Regions from separate parts of the Homo sapiens genome. Here region 2 is linked to region 1. Evidence: promoter capture Hi-C in 16 types of primary human blood cells and fetal thymus (Javierre and others, 2016). All regions are on one chromosome and are shown on one strand. Each heading gives the region's core, a stretch centred on a gene start or on the middle of the fragment in contact. The rest is flanking DNA. Distances are from core to core; before and after follow the strand shown. Region 1 holds the start of TSPAN19 (tetraspanin 19). Region 2 has its middle 160 kb from the start of TMTC2.

The links. Contacts are between HindIII fragments. The CHiCAGO score rates a contact against its expected background, and 5 or more counts as called.
Region 2: a contact is called between a fragment that was not itself captured here and the fragment with the promoter of TSPAN19 in region 1, in 1 of 17 cell types (total B cells). The highest score is 5.5, in total B cells.

The regions. Positions count from the first base shown.
Region 1 is chr12:85,033,918-85,039,002 of GRCh38, forward strand. TSPAN19 (tetraspanin 19) reads right to left here and starts at 2,360. Exons shown (of 9, transcript NM_001100917.2): 1 at 2,287-2,360. LRRIQ1 (leucine rich repeats and IQ motif containing 1) reads left to right here and starts at 2,434. Exons shown (of 27, transcript NM_001079910.2): 1 at 2,434-2,490; 2 at 4,236-4,391. The coding sequence starts at 4,260. The HindIII fragment of the contact is 1,935 bases long and covers 987-2,921 here.
Region 2 is chr12:82,527,874-82,532,958 of GRCh38, forward strand. No RefSeq gene overlaps it. Among named protein-coding and RNA genes, the nearest start is that of TMTC2, 160 kb to the right of the region's middle. RefSeq lists a silencer at 4,934-5,085. The HindIII fragment of the contact is 2,535 bases long and covers 1,285-3,819 here.

The DNA of each region.
Region 1 (5,085 bases), core at 1,110-3,609:
AAGGCTAGAATCTCGTTATATCATATCTCAGTATAGAAATATTAAGATTATACAAGAGTCATGCATGTGAGAATGGGGAATGGGATGGAAACTGTGGGAAAGTCATAAATTCTCATTTTTCTGTGAAGTGGTTGGTCATGACAGCAGCTGGGAGGGAGCACAAAGAGAGTTAGAGAATCTGAAGGCTTGAGACACACTTTAAGTGGAACAAGAGAATGAGAGGCCTAAGAATACAATATGTGGTACTATGAGCTACATAGTAAATTACTTTTACTCAATAATTACGGTGCCTCAAGAAAATGAAACAAAGAAATACCTGCTCTGCAACTATTTTGAACACAACAATGATATTATGGGATATTTAAATTATATCACTGCCATATGAAGAATAAAGCAGTTGTTGAAAAATGCTCTTAAACTAAAATGATTTCACTACAACACATTTTCAAAGGAATATTAGTCTTGTCAGATAACAAAGAACAAACAGTTATCTCTCATTCTTTCATTCTCTCAATAAATATTTATTATGTACTCTCTAAAGGAAATATGCATTGTTAAGCCAATATGCTATAAATCAACCACACCTACAAATTGTTTTTAAAATTTAAATGAAATGAAGTTAACATGTTCAAAAGAAACAAAAGTCTACTCAGGTTAAAGAGTCATAGGCAAACCAACATACTCAATCTGAAGTTACCGTTTCTAGGAATAATGCAATTAAAATGGACTTCTGCTAAATACTACATGGTTGATAAACAACAGTGTCAAGTTAAATTTACTTATAATCTACAAATGTATTAGATAACTGCTGCCTTTTATTTTTGATTAGTTATATTCTAGCGAAATTATGACTAATTGATAAAGTTGTCCTTTCTTCCAAAGTAAAAAATCGCATGACAATATAGGAGATCTATCACCATGAATTAATTTATCTTCAGAAAATCTTTCACTGTTTTTCTTTTTTGCTGTCAATATTTGACAAAGTAAGCTTTGAGAAGGAAAGGAACTAAGGCATTATTTCCAAAATTATTTGATTATGAAAACTAGTTATTCAAAATTAATTTTGAAATTATTAAAGGATTTATAATTTTTAGAAGTCTGGATAGTTTCACAATCAAAAATAAAACTAATCTTAAGATTCTTATGTGAACTTCAACACAATATGAAAGTCTATTTTAAATGAACAGTTTGAGGTTCGAACACAGTAGCTCATACCTATAATCCCAGTGCTTTGGGAGGCCAAGGCGGGAGGATTACTTGAGTACAAGAGTTGGAGGCTACAGTGAGCAATAATTGTACCACTGCACTCCAGCCTGGGCAACAGAGGGAGACCCTGTCTCTAAAAAAACAATAAAAAATAGATAATTTCAATAGTCTATAAATCAGCAATAAAACCAAACTTAAAAAAAAGAACAAATTCCATTTGAGCATGGACTTTGATAATGAAAATACTCTGAATTTAATTAGACCTGAAACCAAGTGTAGTTTATTTTTTAAAATCATCTTTCCTGAAAAGGAAACTAACATGTGTGCTTTTAATATGAGAAATCTATTAACGTCTCACTTTATATTATTAGTTCTTATGTTGATGCAATTCAAGTTTATTGTTACCAGGAAATGTAGTCTATTTTTTTTCCAGAGGCTCAGTGAAATATTTGCTTTTAGCTTATTTTATAGCAGATACCTTTTACAATTATGGCTACTTCCTTTTAGAATTTAATGCCTTATTTGCAAACTTTAAAAGAAAATTAAAGTAAAAAATATGTTATTAATTAAAATATTATTTTGTACCCTATGTATTTGCTCCACAAAAAACTTTAATAAATTAAGTTAAAATTAAATAGCATGACATAAACTTAGAAATTAAGGTTTTATATTGAAATACTGTGTGACAATATTTTTACAGTAAAATAACTCCAGAAAATAATTTTTCAAATTTCTCACCCACATCCCTTCAGTTAGAGGTTTTTGATGGGCATTGATTGATGATTTTTTTCTTTTTTCCTTTTTCTTTTCTTTTCTTTTTTAAAAAACTGTTGTCATGGAAGGCAAACAACTTATTGACTTCTCTTCCATACTTCTATGTCCCACAAATCACTGTTCAGGATTAAGGGTTTGTGGAATGAACACCTTATACATGGGCAAATCACCAGATGGAAATATAAATATATGTAGCTCAGAAACAATTTAAAAAATTTAAAAGTGAGATTACATCTACTTGGGTAATTATAACAAAATTTCATTTTATTAAGTATTTTCCAAAGTTACTTAAATATTAAAATCTACCTGTAAAAAACCGTAAGCTCCTCATCCAGTCCCTGAAATGCTGCGTTCGTTTCAATTTAGAATCGAGATTGTTTGTCCTTCTAGAGCACCTGTAGGGAAAAACCGGTGTCTCTTCCTTGTGATTGGCTGTTGCCATGGATACGCTTTGTGTAGCGGCTATGGGCGCTGTCTTACAACAAAGCCAAGGAATCTCGCTGCTGAGGGGTGAGCCGGGGTCTTAAGACTGGGATTCCCGTTGAGGGAGGTGAACAGCTGTGGGAGCTCAGGCCGAGCCGGGACTCTCTCTGCCTGGCCAGACTTCCAGCAAAGGGAGAGACCGCGGGTCAGGGGATGGCTGTGCGACTCTGCGAAGCTCGAGGCTCCCTTCCACCCTGGAGATTTCGAGAACTCATTCAAAACTTAAAGAGATGTCTTGGCTATGTAGGGATCATTCGATGGTTACTCACTCACCGCTCCCCACAAACCAATTGACGTTATTTTCCTTCCTTCCTTCCCTTCTTGTCGCCCTCCTTTCCACCCTTTCTTTTTCTGTCTCTCTTTCTTTCTTTTTTTTTTGGTAATATATAATTTATATGAACCTTATAAAGTAGATTTCTCTCCCCTTTCTTTACAGGGGTTGAAGGGGGAGTTCCTTAAGCTTTTCTACTTTTGACAGCTTTAGTGAACTCCAAGTGATTCGTTATCAACTTAGAGCACTTTAATGTAGCCCATTTACAGTGAGACCCATCCATGACTGCACGTCATATACAGTAACCACTAACTGCAGGTGGCTACTGAGGACTTGAAATGCAGCTAATCCTAACTGAGATGTGCTGCAGGTGTAAAACACACAACAGATTTCTAAGAATTACTGTCCAAAGAAAGAATATAAACTCTTTGCAATGATATTAATAATTAATTTTGTTATTACACGTTGAAATATTTTGGATATATTGGGTTAAATAAAATATATTATAAAAATTAATTGCACTTCTCTTTTGTTTTTAAAAAGTTGCTAATAGAAAATTTAAACTTGCGTAAGTGCTCAAATATGTAATTGGACAGGGGTGATCTAATGAGCCAGTAGATGAACAGAGAAAGTCATGTAAAGGAAATGACTCTTACCTCCACCATACTCTCCTGCCTCTCTTTCTATATAAAGTTTAGTATACCCGTGCATTTTGCTTTGTAGGCATAAAAAAAAAATCTAGCTTTCCTTCTAATAAAGCTTTTTAAATGCACTTTGAGTTCCATTGCAGGATAATATTTTGCCCTGGTTCTGTCTGGAGTTCCATTTCACTTTGTTTTTCTTTTCTTTTCTTTCTTTTCCTTTTTTTATTTTATTTTTTATTTTTGAGTGAGTGAGTGAGGGTGGAAGTTATGGGTAGAACTGATTTTGAGATGATTGAGTAGAGTGAAAGGAGGAATTAACGAAAGGGAAAGAGGATGGAAAGAAGGAATGAAGAAAAGAACAAGAAGACAGGTGGAAAGGTCAGGCCCTTGAGTAAAGAAAGAAAGGTTTAAACTAGTGTCATGAAAAATAAAATGATAGCTGACTAGTACGTTTTCAAACCTTTTTTGGGACTAAGACCAACAGTGAAAAATAAAAAACAGAACATTAACAACAACACATATTACATTGCAACTCATGCATACATACCTACATTTATATGTATTAATAACTGAAACAAAAATTTTATAAACAATTCTGATCTTTATTATATATAGTAAAATTATATAAACATATAAATCAATAAGAGTATTAGCGTACAATTACAGTTGATCATTTTGTAGTCAAAGTTTAAAAAGAATGATTGAAGAGATAAAACAATGTTTGGTGTAACCATAATAAGGTGTGATAAAAGTTTGTTAAATTAAAACATATTTAAATAAATATGTTGGATTGGTATGACAAATTAGAGAACACATAATTTTTAGTGACATATTAGCCTCTTCATTTTTTAAAGCAGTTCTGTGCTTTATTATGAAGAATAATGGACGATGATGATGCAAAGCTCAAAGCAGAAATAGAAGCTGAATTGGATAAACTCAGCATTTCCTCCTTGGAAAAAGAAGACATTGAGAGTGATGCAAAATCAGAAACCCAGAGTGATGATAGTGATACAGTGAGTATTGCACTTTTGAGCCTTTTAACAGGAGTAGGCTTTTCAGGAGAAATATTACTTTTCTCAGGATGTTTTTATGTACTTCTCATTTTTAGCAGCATTGTTATAAACAATTTATATAAATATAAATTATATTGAATATATATAGTCACCTATACATCTTCGTAAAATTGGGATTATCATTATATATATTTATATCCTGATTTTTGTTTTTACTTGTGAACATTTTAGCATGATTAAATTACATGGGAAGAAAAATGTATATGAAATCTTTTGACATATCAAAATGGTTACTTTTGGAAATAAAACAAATTATCCTTTTATTTGTGTATATTTACCAATGTTTATATGCTTCAGAGTTTATTCATAGATTTATTCATTTATACCAATATCCTTAATCCAACTGGAATTTATTTTCAGGAATGTTATGAAATGTAGAACTAATTTGAAAATCTCCTGCACATATTGAGCTAATATTTCCAGTGTCTCTTGTTTAATAATCTAATTTTTCTCAATTGATTTATCATATGTCTTACTGATAGTTATTGTACATATGATCTATCCAAGGCTGTCTGTTCTTTTCCATTACTTTATTCATTATTTTCCTACTGTTGTATATTTGTAAATATTGAGTGGACCAAATTCTTCACATCTTTTTATCATTTGAAAATCTTAACTAAGCTTTTTTTGAAAA
Region 2 (5,085 bases), core at 1,302-3,801, 2.5 Mb before region 1:
TCATAGTGTTAAAGTGGCCTGTGGTTATCACAACTGAAAAGAGCACATTGAAGCTTTAGTATATAATTACTGCTACTTGGTTTCCCAAAAGAAGTTTAAAGTTTAACTTATTTTCTTTAAGTCATAATTAAACTGAGAAGAAAAGACTTCTTTTTTATAGTTTGGAGGGAGAATCTATGTATATCTTGACATAAGAAAATATCTTCCCTTTAGAAGAGGGAATAAACGTATGCTTGATAATTTAGAATGTGCAAATGGGTAGTGATAGGTGATTCAAACAACGGAAGGCTTTTCCAATAAACAAAATGTTTTTAAAAATAGAAATGGTTATTTCAGAAGTTCAGATGGTGAGCTTACCATCACTAGAAATGTTTGCATGGATGGATAATTAGTGAGATGTGGTGAGAATCTTGGTAAGAATGTGTTAGGAATTTGAATACTCAGGTTTGAGGGGGAAGCTTTACTAGATTTCTAAGAAAGATCATGTGTAATTTTTAGGGTTTTTTGTTTTAAATTGATAACAGTGTTATTGATAAAATTATGTTGCATTAGGATAATGCTACGTTAACAAATACATCTAAACATTAGAGTGGATTAGCACAACTGTTTATTTCAAACTCATGCACTATTCCTTGCTGTTATTAATGGTTGGTGGATGACTCTCCTTTATACGGAGATTCAGGGACCCTGGTCTTTATCCGTTTTGTGGCTCTGCCATCTCCTAGGCCATTGAAGTACTTTGCCTCCACCCAGCAGAAAGGGAAAGAAACAAAAGAGAATGAACATCTAATTCTTAAACTGGAAATAACACACTTACTTCTGCTTATATTCCATTGCAGAAAGCTAGTTAGATGACCCCGCATGGATTGAGAGAGAAAAGAAAGCACAAATATTGATACTCAGTTGCTTTCTTTACCACTGTCCTCCCTCTGACAACTGAACATTTGTGCACATCCTTTTTCTTACACATGTATTATCTCTACAAAGAAGTCAACTCAGAGTTATATTTAGTAACTTGATCCAACTAAAAGTCCAGAAAATCTGGGTGATACCTATCCCCTCCATCAGGTCTGGGTGTGACACCTTATAATCTAGTGACTATTTCCTAAAGTATATTGCACCAGTGGCCAAAACCTTAATCATTCCTTATATCCACATTCTTTGCCATGTAACTCAGTGTCCACTCCCTATGCATATAGCAGTGTTCCCCCAGCCTTTTACTCTGGTCTCAGCCAGGTGACTTGCTTTGATCAAAGGAATATTAGCAGATAAGATGTAAGCAGAAGCTTGCCCTCTACTTTCAACATAAGAACATGCTTATGTCTAGTCCACAGAAGGATGAAAGACATACAAAGCAAAGCCAGTTGCCTCAGCCAAGGCATCCTCGGTTAGTTGACAGCCAGCCATCCTCCAGATAGATGAGTGATCTAAGCCAAGATGGAGCTGCCTGGCTAAACCCCAGCTGATTCTAGACATGTGAACAATAAATGCTTAATGTTGTATGACACTTAGGGTTTTGCAATTGTTTATTATGCAGGCTTATTGTGGTCATAGATAACTGATACATGTACCAAACAAGACTCTCAACTCTTAGTGAGCAGAAATTTACTTGGTTTCATTTTCTACATAAAATATAATGCTATACTTTCTCATACTGGAATGCAAACTTTGTTGAGTTCATTTTAATACGTAGCAAGGTTAAGCTAGATAAAATGTTGTAAATATTGTGAAACATAAGCATGAATTAATTTTTATATCTTTATAGCACTTTTAACTTTTCAAACCACTTTCAGATGTCCTTTCACTTGATTTTCACAGCAACTTTGATAGAAGGAAAAGTAGATTCCTGTATTCCTAACTACCAAATCTCAGTGACTAAGTTACTACCCCAATTACAACTGGCTAATGACAGAAGAAAATCAAACACACTGGAATCCATCTCTCCTGCCTTCCAGAATGTACTCCCATTGCTGAATAGGCCTTCATTAGAGAAGTAAGGAGACAACAGTTTTTCCATAGCTATTGTATGATAAACATGATCATAACACTCTTACCTCATTACTGGATATTTTCAAGGTTAAGATTTACTCCTTCAGAAGTCTCTGAATTATGCCTATTCTCTCTAATGAAATGCTTTCCCCAATATTTTCTACTAAAGGATCTGCAGAACTGATCAGTAAACACGAATTGGATGTAAAGAAATTCTTACCTGTAGCAGAGTTTCACAACCTCAGCACTATTGATGTTTGGGCTAGATAATTATCTGTTGTGGGAGTCTTGCCTGTTTATATTCAGTAGCAACCCTGACTTGTACCCACTAGATTCCAGTAACATTGCCCCAGTTGTGGCAAACAAAAATGTCTCTGGACGTTGCCAATTATCACCCCCTAGAGTGATATTCATCCCCTCTTCCATTCAGAAACATGGGCAAATTAAATACAACTAGGATTTTGCGTGTCAGATTCTTAGAAGATGAGAGCTGAACATAAGGAATCAGTTTGTGCAAACTTTTCATTTTATAAAATTTTATATTTCTATTTTCACTTTGTAAGGAAGAAAAGTACACCCAAACAGTTATTCAAAGCTACAAAACTGGTTAATACTATGTCTTTTGACACACTATTGAATTATTTCATATTTTATTTATCTGTTCCCCTTTACTCTGCAAATAAAATTAAGGGACTTTGGATAGACTGTGCAACTTCTAATTCCCGTTCTAGGTCCAAGTATTGACTTAGTGGCCTGCTTTCGGGTTTCTGTAGAAGCCTCATCCTACCCAGGTAATGCCACACACATATCCTTACCTGACTTATCTTCTCTGCCTCTTCAAGTTACCCACAAACCTGACTATCTTTACTACTATCCCCCTGCCAGGCCCTGGTGCAGTCTTTTCTCCTTGTCTCATCTTTCTGGCTGACACTTTAAGGTCCAGTTCTCAATTGTTCTCAAGGCTCTGATTTCTTCGACCTAGCCTAGATATTCTTTTTGTCCTTTTCTTCTTTTAGGTCTTCCTTAAAAACATCCTTTACCATTCAATAATTCTAGTCCTTTAGATATCAATTGTCTGAAGGCAAAACCTACTCAACCCAAGAGGTCCTTTTCAACACCGAATGGGTATATCTACTTTTCATTATTGCCTCCTTCCCAAATTTTTATTTATGTACTCATGAGTCATATTTATATCTTTATTTTATTTTATTTTAAGACAGAATCTCGATCTGTCACCCAGGCTGGAGTGCAATGGCACAATCTCAGCTCACTGCAGCCTCCACCTCCTGTGTTCCAGTGATTCTCCTGCCTCAGCCTCCTGAGTAGCTGGGAATGCAGGCACGTGCCACCAAGCCTGGCTAATTTTTGTATTTTTAGTAGAAACGGGTTTCACCATGTTGGCCAGGCTGGTCTCAAACTCCTGACCTCAAGTGATCAGCCACCCTTGGCATCCCAAAGTGCTAGGATTACAGGCATGAGCCACCGTGCCCAGCATATTTATACCTTTAAAAGAGCAATTATAAGTTTTTTCTTGGAAGTATCCATTGCCCTATTATAAAATTGCCTAAATGTTATGTTTCAGCACGCCAGTCTTTTATTCTCACTTCTTACCTGGAGTAGCCCCCGAATTTCATCATCGTTTTAGGACACAGGGTGTATTTTGCTACTACTTTCCCATCTTTAAAACAAGTAAGTGGACAAAACTAAATAGCTCCCCATCAAAATATAGATTAATAAATTCAGTCCTCTGGGCATGTTGCTTTATGAAATTGGTAGAAAAAAAATATTTGATAAGGAAGCCAAACTTCAATAAAAAGCCTATAATTAAAAAGCTTCCTATCACAGTATTCAAAGAGACAAATACCATTTATTTGTATTCAGGAAACTGACTTCTTTCATTTCAGCCCATCAAGAATATAATCTGATTTCAAATGATTATGTATTAACCTATGGTAAAGAATTGCTATTCTTTTGAGTAAAGAGGGAAAAAAATAGCATCCCATAAAGTATACAGGTAAAAGGCATTTGGAAACTGTGTATTCTTTTCACTTACTTGAGGAATGGTTATTCATTTGCTTTGGGAATTAACTTATTTAAGAATAAGATAGAGGTAGAGGAGATTTGGGAATGGAAGAGACTAAAAATCTCCATTTTAGGTCTAACATTTAAGTCTTTAATCCATCTTGAATTAATTTTTGTATAAGGTGTAAGGAAGGGATCCAGTTTCAGCTTTCTACATATGGCTAGCCAATTTTCCCAGCACCATTTATTAAATAGGGAATTCTTTCCCCATTTATTGTTTTTGTCAGGTTTGTCAAAGATCAGATGGTTGTAGATGTGTGGTATTATTTCTGAGGGCTCTGTTCTGTTCCATTGGTCTATATCTCTGTTTTGGTACCAGTAACATGCTGTTTTGGTTACTGTAGCCTTGTAGTATAGTTTGAAGTCAGGTAGCATGATGCCTCCAGCTTTGTTCTTTTGGCTTAGGATTGTCTTGGCAATGCAGGCTCTTTTTTTGTTCCATATGAACTTTAAAGTGGTTTTTTCCAATTCTGTGAAGAAAGTCATTGTTAGGTTGAAATGCAAATCAAAACCACAATGAGATACCATCTCACACCAGTTAGAATGGCGATCATTAAAAAGTCAGGAAACAACAGGTGCTGGAGAGGATGTGGGGAAATAGGAACACTTTTACACTGTTGGTGGGACTGTAAACTAGTTCAACCATTGTGGAAGACAGTGTGGCAATTCCTCAAGGATCTAGAACTAGAAATACCATTTGACCCAGCCATCCCATTACTGGGTATATACCAAAAGGATTATAAAACATGCTGTTATAAAGACACATGCATATGTATGTTTATTGTGGCACTATTCACAATAGCAAAGACTTGGAACCAACCCAAATGTCCAACAATGATAGACTGGATTAAGAAAACGTGGCTCATATACACCATGGAATACTATGCAGCCATAAAAAATGATGAGTTCATGTCCTTCATAGGGACATGGATGAGGCTGGAAACCATCATTCTCAGCAAACTATCGCAAGGACAGAAAACCAAACACGCGTGTTCTCACTTGTAAGTGGGAATT